3 separate regions of the Homo sapiens genome follow, and all the other regions are linked to region 1. The links are contacts of gene promoters, found by promoter capture Hi-C in blood cells and fetal thymus (Javierre and others, 2016). All regions are on one chromosome and are shown on one strand. The core of a region is centred on a gene start or on the middle of the fragment in contact, and the rest is flanking DNA. Distances in the headings are between cores, read along the strand shown. Region 1 overlaps LINC02572 (long intergenic non-protein coding RNA 2572). Region 2 holds the start of ERCC3 (ERCC excision repair 3, TFIIH core complex helicase subunit). Region 3 holds the start of IWS1 (interacts with SUPT6H, CTD assembly factor 1).

What was found. Contacts are between HindIII fragments. The CHiCAGO score rates a contact against its expected background, and 5 or more counts as called.
Region 2: a contact is called between the fragment with the promoter of ERCC3 here and a fragment that was not itself captured in region 1, in 1 of 17 cell types (fetal thymus). The highest score is 8.1, in fetal thymus.
Region 3: the fragment with the promoter of IWS1 here is called in contact with a fragment that was not itself captured in region 1 in 1 of 17 cell types (fetal thymus); the score reaches 5.6 in fetal thymus.

The regions. Positions count from the first base shown.
Region 1 is chr2:129,873,496-129,876,663 of GRCh38, reverse strand. The region is part of intron 1 of LINC02572 (long intergenic non-protein coding RNA 2572); the gene reads left to right. Among named protein-coding and RNA genes, the nearest start is that of LINC02572, 2.4 kb to the left of the region's middle. The HindIII fragment of the contact is 4,386 bases long and covers 1-3,168 here.
Region 2 is chr2:127,292,523-127,295,690 of GRCh38, reverse strand. It overlaps ERCC3 (ERCC excision repair 3, TFIIH core complex helicase subunit), which reads left to right and starts at 1,547. Exons shown (of 15, transcript NM_000122.2): 1 at 1,547-1,637; 2 at 1,973-2,178; 3 at 2,845-3,081. The coding sequence starts at 1,610. The HindIII fragment of the contact is 2,323 bases long and covers 200-2,522 here.
Region 3 is chr2:127,524,827-127,527,994 of GRCh38, reverse strand. IWS1 (interacts with SUPT6H, CTD assembly factor 1) reads left to right here and starts at 1,506. Exons shown (of 14, transcript NM_017969.3): 1 at 1,506-1,820. The coding sequence starts at 1,787. RefSeq lists enhancers at 907-976, 1,217-1,266, 1,527-1,586, 2,117-2,176, 2,187-2,266 and 1 more and silencers at 1,012-1,185, 1,827-1,936. The HindIII fragment of the contact is 4,097 bases long and covers 1-2,020 here.

The sequences.
Region 1 (3,168 bases), core at 342-2,841:
TAATAGCAGAACATCAGGGTAAGCCTGATAAAGAATTATAAAAATCAGGCCATCAGGGTAAACTCAACGTAACTACTGATGCAAATTGAATAGCTTCTGGCTGTTTACTAAAAACGGAATGAGGGATAGTAACTGTAGCTTTAATTCCATAACAATAGAGCTAAAAATCTACCATAGCTGTGTAGACACTTGCTGACTACCTGAATGCATTCAGGTTTTTTCTAAATAATAGAATTATCTAATCATTCTCTATTTTTTGAATTGGCATGTTCCTTTGGGTGTTGGTTTCCTTTCTGCCCCCACAAGTTTGGTGACAAGGATGGGACACCTTGAGTGAGCCTTTCCACTGGGCAAATTGGAGGATGTGTAGCCATCTTCGGTCAGACAAGAGGCCTTGTTTGCTGAAGTCTTTCTTAAACACATTGACTCATTAAGTCTATCATTTGATTGACCCTACTGTCGTAGCTTACACCAAAGAAAAATTATGGTCATGTGTAAAGCTATATCCTCTCCCTAGCTCAAATACGGGGAATTGAACCTGTAATTAGAGAACTAGAAAGAGAATCATAAAGAAAGGACATTTGCCTTGTAATAGTCTTCCTATATTACCTATGAAAAAGGAAGGGAAACTGACAAAGAAGTTTAGCTTGCTTACATATTTTTACAAAATCTGATAGAAATATATTTTTGGTATGTCTGACAGTTGTAGTACTCAACCTCTTAGCCTCCTATTGTGTGACCTAACTAATTTTAGTAATAGACTTATGTTGAGCTTTCTTTTCTATACCTTCAGCAGAGGAACCAAGGTATCTCTTTGTGTTTACCTATGAAGGCTTTCCATATTGGTGGCAATGCATCCCCCAGGGATTCAGAGATTTGCCAACTATAATCTCTAGGCATTTACAAAAGAACTTAAAGAAACTTCCCCCACCTCAGGAGTCCATATATGGATATATATGGATGATTTATTGATAGGTAACACCTCATGTGCTAACAAGATATATTAGGCCAGACATGGTGACTCATGCCTGCAAAACCAGCACTTTGGGAGGCTGAGGTGGGCAGATTGCTTGAGCTTAGAGTTCGAGACCAGCTTGGGCAACATGGTGAAACCCTATCTCTACAAAAACTTATAAAAATGAGCCAGGCCTGGTGGTGGGTGCCTGTAGTCCCAGTTACTTGAGAGGCTGAGGTGGGAGGATCACTTGAGCCTGGGAGGTGGAGGTTACAGTGAGCCGAGCTCGCACCACTGCACTCTAGTATGGGTGACAGAGTGAGACCCTGTCCCCAAAACAAAAACAAGATATATTAGCTTTACGAAAATTCTAGCTTCTAAAGGGCATAAAGCTCCTTTAGATAATTTCCAACATCGTTAGACCGAGGTCAAGTATTTGGAATATTTGTTATTGGCTGATGGATGGGAAATAGTTCTGTCCCCAAAGCCACCTCTTTTACAAATGAAGCAATAGCTCCATGTAGCAACAGCTCTGTCACTGCGAAGAAATAGCTCCACCCTTTTGAGGTTGGTGTGCATCGCAGGCAACGGGTCCCTGTCTCTTCTGAGAGGCAAGCCACTCATGGTGGTGCTACATGAAGCATCGCTAGGTGCATTTTTGCAATAGCTAGGAGAAGCTAAAAAAGCCTTCAGATCCTTAAGTAGCCATTGTTTTCCTGCCTGTACTTGGAGTCAGTTCCTAGCTGGTCATCTCTTCTCCCTTTTCTGTAAGGAGAGCAAGGGTGCTGTTAGTGATGGGTATGCTTCCTCAAACACTAGCCTTTGGTTGGCTTTCATGTACCACTGGATTCTGTTGCTCCAGGGATGCCAGGCTGTTTAGAAGTCATTCCAACATTGGGTCTCTGCTTGGGAAGGTGCAGGCCTTGGCTCGGGGATGTAATTGTTTGGGCCTTGTGCTGTTGCTGCTGCTTTGTTTTTTTTGTTTTTGTTTTTTTTTGTGTGTTTTTTTTTGTTTTTTTGTGTGTGTGTTTTTTTGTTTTTTTTTTTGAGACAGAGTCTAACTGTTGCCCAGGCTGGAGTACAATGGCGCTTACTGCAACCTCCACCTCCCGGGTTCAAGCGATTCTTCTGCCTTAGCCTCCCAAGCTAGGATTACAGGTGTGCACCATCATGCCCGGCTAATTTTTGTATTTGTAGTAGAGACAGGGTTTCACCACGTTGGTCAGGCTGGTCTTGAACTCCTGACCTCAAGTGATCCACCCACCTTGGCCTCCCAAAGTGCTGGGATTACAGGTGTGAGCCACCACACCTGGCCTGTTGCTGCTGCTTTTTGAAGTTCCTATGACACAGCACTTGTCAGTGCTCTGTAAGCGTTACTGGCTGACCCTAGTGGGATTCTAGGAAGGTGTGAACTTTGAGCCCAGTGACTCTGTTGCCAGATCCTGACTGGACAGCAGCACAACCACCTCGCAGCCCTCAATGAAGATGCATGGCCTCCATCTGATTCATCATATAGTCTTATTCCCATGTTAACTTAATAGCATTCATTGATGGGTCTTATGTGAGAGACACAGGAGGAGACAGAAAAGCACCCAATATAGAAGTCAGTTCTCATGGGATTCTAGAGGCTTGCATTCCCCCCACACATAAAGTCAGCCCAAGCAATGGAACTCAGCTTTTATGTGAGCTGTAACAGTCACCACTGGTCTTAATATGTGTATCTATACCAGTAGTAAATGTGCGTTTGGGGTCTGTCATGCTGTGGGACAAATTAAAAAATAGAGGCTTTGCAATACGAATGGGAATGACAGCGTCATGGGGAAAGTAACTGCCCCTTTCTGTAGTTCATACCAGCTCTGTGGAGGCCCTGGTGGGAGGATGTGGGGAGCTTCATTAGCTGTTTTGTAGTTGCCACTCAAGTCATTTATCAGCATCCAAGCCTGGGGATTAGTGAGGCTGAATGTAGGCAGGGGCAGTGGGGACAGGAACAGATGTAGTTGGAAAAAATATTAAGGAAGCACTTGGTGCTCACTGGAAGGCAGAGTTGTCTAGGAAAGTGTCTGGGCCTCTGGGTTGGGTGATTAGGTGAGTAGCTGAGACATTCGCACATTCACTATTACTGGAAATACAGGAGGAGAGGGTGCAGATTTGCAGGACTCATCTATGGTCACGTTGAATTTAAAGTGGATGTAATAAAACATATTGATGTCATT
Region 2 (3,168 bases), core at 298-2,797, 2.6 Mb after region 1:
ACCACGCCCAGCTAATTTTTGTATTTTTAGTAGAGACGGGGATTCACCATATTGGCCAGGCTGGTATTGAACTCCTGACCTTATGATCCCCTGCCTCGGCCTCCCAAAGTGCTGGGATTACAGGCGTGAGCCACCGCGCCTGGCCCAGGCCTCACTTTGAACCATCATGTAGAAATTTCCTCAGCAAAATGTCCAAGCTTATCACTTATAAGTTCTACTTTCCACCCAACAGAATACAATTCAGGCAAGCTCTCTACCACTTGCCTCCAGTTTCAATAACATATTTCTCCTTTCCATCTGAGCCGTCACCAGAATCACCTTTAATGCCCATACTTCTACCAAGGCTCTTCAAGACAATAGAGGCTTTTCTATCATGCGCCTCAAAATTCTTTCAGCCTCTACCGATTACCCAATTTGAAAACCACTTCCCCATTGTTAGGTATTTGTTACAGCAGTACCCTATTCCCCGTACCAAAAATCTGTGTTACGTTCTCCAGAGAAACAGAACCAAGAGGCCCACTGAGCAAGCGAGATTGATTGATTGATTTTAAAGAATTGGCTCATGCAATTGTGGGGGTTGGCAAGTTGGGAATTCAGGTACGAGTTGATGTTGTAGTTTTGAGTCCAAAGGCTGGAAACTCAGTCAGAACTTTCTGTGTTGCAGTCTGGAGGCAGAATTCCTTTTTCCTTGAGAAACCTGTCTTTGCTCTTAAGGCCTTCAACTGATTTGGATGAGGCCCACCCGCATTATTGAGGGTAATCTGCTTTATTTAGGCTGAGACATGAGAATGGCATGAACCCGGGAGGCGGAGCTTGCAGTGAGCTGAAATCGCGCCACTGCATTCCAGCCTGGGCGACAGGGCGAGACTCCGTCTCAAAAAAAAAAAAAAAAAAAAGAAAAAAATTTTTTTTGAGACGAACTCTCGGCCTGTCGCCCAGGCTGTAGTGCAGTGGTGCAATCTCAGCTCAGTGCAGCCTTTACCTTCTGGGTTCAAGAGATTCTCCCATCTCAGCCTCCCAAGTAGCTTAGACTACAGGCGTGTGCCACCATGCCTGGCTACTTTTTTTTGTATTTTTCGCAGAGATGGGGTTTCACCATGTTGGCCAGGCTGGCCTCGAACTCCTGACCTCAAGTGATCCACCCACCTCAGCCTCCCAAAGTGCTGGAATTACAGGCGTGAGCCACCGTGCTCAGCCAAATTTTTTTTAATTAAAAAAAAGAATTCTTCCTTACCCATGGACTCAGGTCACATTCTCTCTCTCTCTCTCTCACACACACATTTATTGCCCACATGGCTTCATTAAAATTTAAGTTCCAGAAGGATGAGGCCTTTAATTCGCGCACTACACAGGTGCTCAACACACAGTATTTTCCTTCAGTTGTAGAGAAATGAACAGTGGAGGACCCCCGCCGCTGGGTCGCACGAGCTAACAGATCGGCGGTCGCTGGCTCTCCGCTCTTCCAGCCACCCACATCACGGCGCCTAGAGGCGGGACATCCTGTGTGGACAACAGGGAGCTTCCGGATTGAGCCGGAAGTCCCCCCAGAGCGGATGCCGCGGCGGGCCTGTGGGAGCGGGGTCATCTTCTCTCTGCTGCTGTAGCTGCCATGGGCAAAAGAGACCGAGCGGACCGCGGTGAGACGTTGCGCGGGCACGCTCAGCCACGACTGCCCTTGCCGGCCCTGCCCCCCGCTCTGCCTCGGAGCTGCTCCGGGCCTCTGCGCCGGCCGACCCTGCTGGCCCTCCCGCGCGCACCCCGTTGGGACAGGCCTTTGGGCGGGAGAGATGCTGGACCTGGGCGCAGCCCAGCGAACTCGGCCTAGGGGAGACGGGTGAGGGGCGCAACGCCTGCGGGATGCAGGTGGCTCTTAGCTAGGAGTTTGCGGCGGCGCAGGTGAAATGCTGCCAAGCGGTGCGGAGGGAACCCTGAAGGCTCCTGCTGGGCTTACTTCTGTGTTGGTATCTTGCAGACAAGAAGAAATCCAGGAAGCGGCACTATGAGGATGAAGAGGATGATGAAGAGGACGCCCCGGGGAACGACCCTCAGGAAGCGGTTCCCTCGGCGGCGGGGAAGCAGGTGGATGAGTCAGGCACCAAAGTGGATGAATATGGAGCCAAGGACTACAGGCTGCAAATGCCGCTGAAGGACGACCACACCTCCAGGCCCCTCTGGGTGGTAAGCATGCCCTTAGCTTGGGCAGGGCCCAGGAGTGTGCGGAGCGGCAGCTAAATCTTGGGCATCCTCAGAGTCAAAACTGACATTCAGGATACTGCCCCTAGAACTGGCCGGGAGAGAATTTTCATCCACACACGTTGGAACAGCCCAAGGCAACAGCGAGCAGTTGCGCACACGTGTGGCGGCCGGACCTGGGCTTCCAACAGCTCTAACCCCTCGGTTTACTCTCACTCCTTCCCCAGCCCTACCCCATGTAGTGAATCCTTTTATCTGCCGAATAAATAGCATTTATCATGTAACAGTTTGTTTCCTCAAATAATGGAAGACATGTTCGGTAGCAAGCTTTTGCTCTACTTTAAATAATTAATGTTATACATTTAGTTGAAATCTAGCCAAAAGGTAACTTGAGGATAGCCAGTAAGATGGGCTTTCTCTGTGCAGAATAGTAGGAAACAGCTGTTGACTTTGGAAACACTTTCTTCTATTTTTCTTTACTCTTCTGTATCTGATTAATGTAACAGGCCCCACAGTTGTCTGAAGGAGTGCTTGCAAGAATATCTGTGGTGTTGGGCAGCTTATTCTTTCTTGATAATGATATGGGCAAGAGCCCAGTAGTCTCTGCAACTCATGTTTCCTTGTCTGTTTTGTCCATTTGGTATCTCTCAGGCTCCCGATGGCCATATCTTCTTGGAAGCCTTCTCTCCAGTTTACAAATATGCCCAAGACTTCTTGGTGGCTATTGCAGAGCCAGTGTGCCGACCAACCCATGTGCATGAGTACAAACTAACTGCCTACTCCTTGTATGCAGCTGTCAGCGTTGGGCTGCAAACCAGTGACATCACCGAGTACCTCAGGAAGCTCAGCAAGACTGGAGTCCCTGATGGAATTATGCAGTTTATTAAGGCAAGTGACAGCTGAGACCAGCAATTCCACCTGCCCTGCTAATGTAACAATAGGCATAGGTGCTCCATGTTGTCAGCCTGTGGCAGC
Region 3 (3,168 bases), core at 257-2,756, 2.3 Mb after region 1:
AGGTGTACTCTCACCTTCTCTTTAGAAGAGGGCTTAGAGCCTTGATATCTTCTATCAAGTGATTCGGTTTCGGGCATTGCTAATTCTTTGTTCTTTTGATTCTCAAGACTGCCTGAGAAGATGTCATTCCCACAGCTGAAAAGAAGGAATTTGGATTCAATGCTGTTTCCACCACTTCGGAAAGGAATATCCATGAACTCTCTTGCAGGAAAATGGGAATTTCCAGAGAGAAACCACTTCTCCCCTTTCTTCTCTTCCCACGTCCTCTTCAGGAGCCTATAATTGGGCTCTGCCAGCATACTCTGACTGGCTAACGAAGGGTCAGATATCTGCAGTAGTAACAAAAGGCTCTTTTTCTACATGTCTACACCTCCTGGGGAGTCTTTGCTTAAACCTCTACTGGCCCTCCTCCGATCCAAAGGCAAGAATGTTCCCCTCTCTGTCCAAGACTAAAATGAACAAGTAAGGAAATGGATTTTACTCAGCCTATTGCAATAGGGAGAGCACTCCAGATATGATCAGTGTCTTGGCAGCGTAGTTTTGACTTTTATAGGGAGGAAGGTGGGATGATTGACAGTTGGGATTGTTTTGCAATCAGGAGAAGTTTCAGTCAGGTGAACAGGAAATGTTCTCTGTGTCTAACAAGTTGGGGGGAGGAGAGTTCTAATCTCAACTAATCACTCGATATCATCAGCGGGAATTTGGAAGGTCTGTTTGGCTTTATTAACAGGCTCAGAATAAAGGGGAAAGGTCTCTGGCCTTGTCACAGGCAAACAAGGGGGTCATCTGCACGCGTTTTATCTGAGTCACATGGAGACGGGTGGTTCTTTACAGTGTGCCGTTCCAGAAACACAAATAGATGAGGGGGTTTCTTAATCACCGCTGTTTTCCAGGAACACAGGGCTCAGGTAAAGTTCAACTTCACCTTCCTCCGGTGTTTCATCAGGGGAACCCTTCTGGAAGCAAAGACGTGTACTTCTTACTGTTGGCTAAATGGCTTCTTAACAAGGAAATTAAATCGTTGTTTAGAATGAAAGAGAGGAAGACGCCGGGAGAGGAGGCGCTGTGGATCGCGCCAGTTAGTAACGCATCACAGCTCGCGGGCGTCATACTACAAGTCCCAGTGAGCAACGCCCGCTTTCTTGCCTACTGCGGGCGGGAACCAGGCGCCTCTGGGCCTGACGGGAAAGACAGTGGTTTGGCTGAATGACGGAAAAGTCATTTGAGCAGGTCTTCATTTTTCGGAAGAGTATCTCAAAAGCTCTTCAAACAAGGCACGGACACAGAATCTAGGAAATGATAAAGAATCAATGATAACGTTATTACCACGGGGGTCAGACCAGGATCCACCCGAGGAAGGTATTTAACTAAAGCCCGAGTTCCAGCTCAATTTTCCCAGGAGTCTCCTTTCCGGCCGTGCCTGGCGTCATTGCTGTTGCGTCTTCTCATTGGCCGGTTGACGGGTTGCGGCGCCTGCGCGCTGCATTCCTTTGAGGGTCGTGGGCAGACGCCATTTTGGCCCCAGCGGTGCTTCTAGGAAGTAGAACGCCGGCTCGCATGCCTGCCCGCCCGCCAGCCTGCCGGGTACGGCCTTTTCCGCCGGGGCTTCCAGGTCAAAGAATTCGCCTTTGCCGCTACCGCTTTCTTACCCTCCGCACCCGTTAAGTTCTCCGGTCGGGCGGCAGTCTCTGAACACTTAGCCGCGCCATCCGGGGTCACACCGCCTGGAAGGAGGTGACGGGGGCGGCGCGGGGCGCGGACACTCCCCGCTGAGAGTCCGCCTGCCATGGACTCGGAATATTACAGCGGCGACCAGTCAGGTGGGGCAGGGACCTGGGGGACCGGGCTGGGAGGCGGAGCAGTTACTCGGCGGGGCTTGGCCTGGCACCCCGCGGGTGGGGGCAAGGAGGCCCCCCGAAACCTTCCCTCCCGCGACCCGGCCCGAGGAGGGCAAGAGCCCTCTGACCAGCTGCAAGCGTCGAAGCTAGAACGTTGGAGAGGGGATTCTGGTGGGAAAGCTTTCTTCTGAATCGGCGAAGGTTTTTGCTGAAATTGGGAAGTCACTTTCATATGTTAAGCTCCTATTGTGTGCAGGGAAGGAGAGGTGTCTTCTGTTAAGAGAGTTTTCAGTAGTTGAGTAGTTGGAGAATCCAAGGGGCGTTGGGGCGGGGGATCCTTCCTAGACTTTTCACTGCTAGTTAGGAGTGGTTTAATCTTGCTTGCAACACCGGACGTAAGTGCAGGACCCATGTTTCAGTTGCATGCATAGAGTAAGGAATGCGCTTCTGGCACTTACTGGTGGTTTTTGTGCCTTTCCTCCACCTTGAGATCGTTCCTCTTCCTCCTCACCGAAGTTTGGTCTCCTTTCTTTACTGTTTGTTTATTCTGTAAGCTGTTACTGGGGCCCACTCTGCTGGCACGGTGCTTGGCACCTGAGATTAAGGATAAGTGAGGCAGAACCTGGTGTGGGAAACACGTCGCATTTGCTTTCCCTTTGTGTGCTAGTCCTGTTGGGGCGTTCTGTTACAAAAGTTCTTAAATACACCATAAATAAATACACCCTCTATGTACCCACAAAAATTGAAAATTAAAAAGAAAACTTGAGTGCTTAAATAATTGTTTAAGCGTTAAGCCCTTTACTGTTTTGAGTTCATTGCTTTTCCTTACGTAGGACAGTGAATTCTAATGACTGCAAAGCGTTTTCCAGGCATGCACTGCTTAAAAACACTTTCCTAAGCCAGGTGCGGTGGATTATGCCTGTAATCCCAGCACTTTGGGAGGCGTAGGCGGCCGATGGCTTGAGCCCAGGAGTTCGAGACCAGCCTGGGCAACATAGTGAGACCAACACCACCCCCACCCCCCATGCCCGTACCCCACCCCCCTACGCCCCTACCCCACCCCCCTACTTCGTCTCTACAAAAAAATGCAAAAATTAGCCGAGTGTGGTGGCATACACCTGTAGTCCCAGTTACTCAGGAGGCTGAAGTGGGAGGATCCTTTGAGCCCTGAGCCCGGGAGGCAGAGGTTGCAGTGAGCGGAAGTTGCACCACTGCACTCCAAGCCTGGGCGACAGAGCAAGACTCTGTCTCAAAAAAAACAAAAACAAAAACAAAAACAAAAAAACACTTTCCTGATACTTTCAGAATAGTTTTTTTTCCATTCATTTGT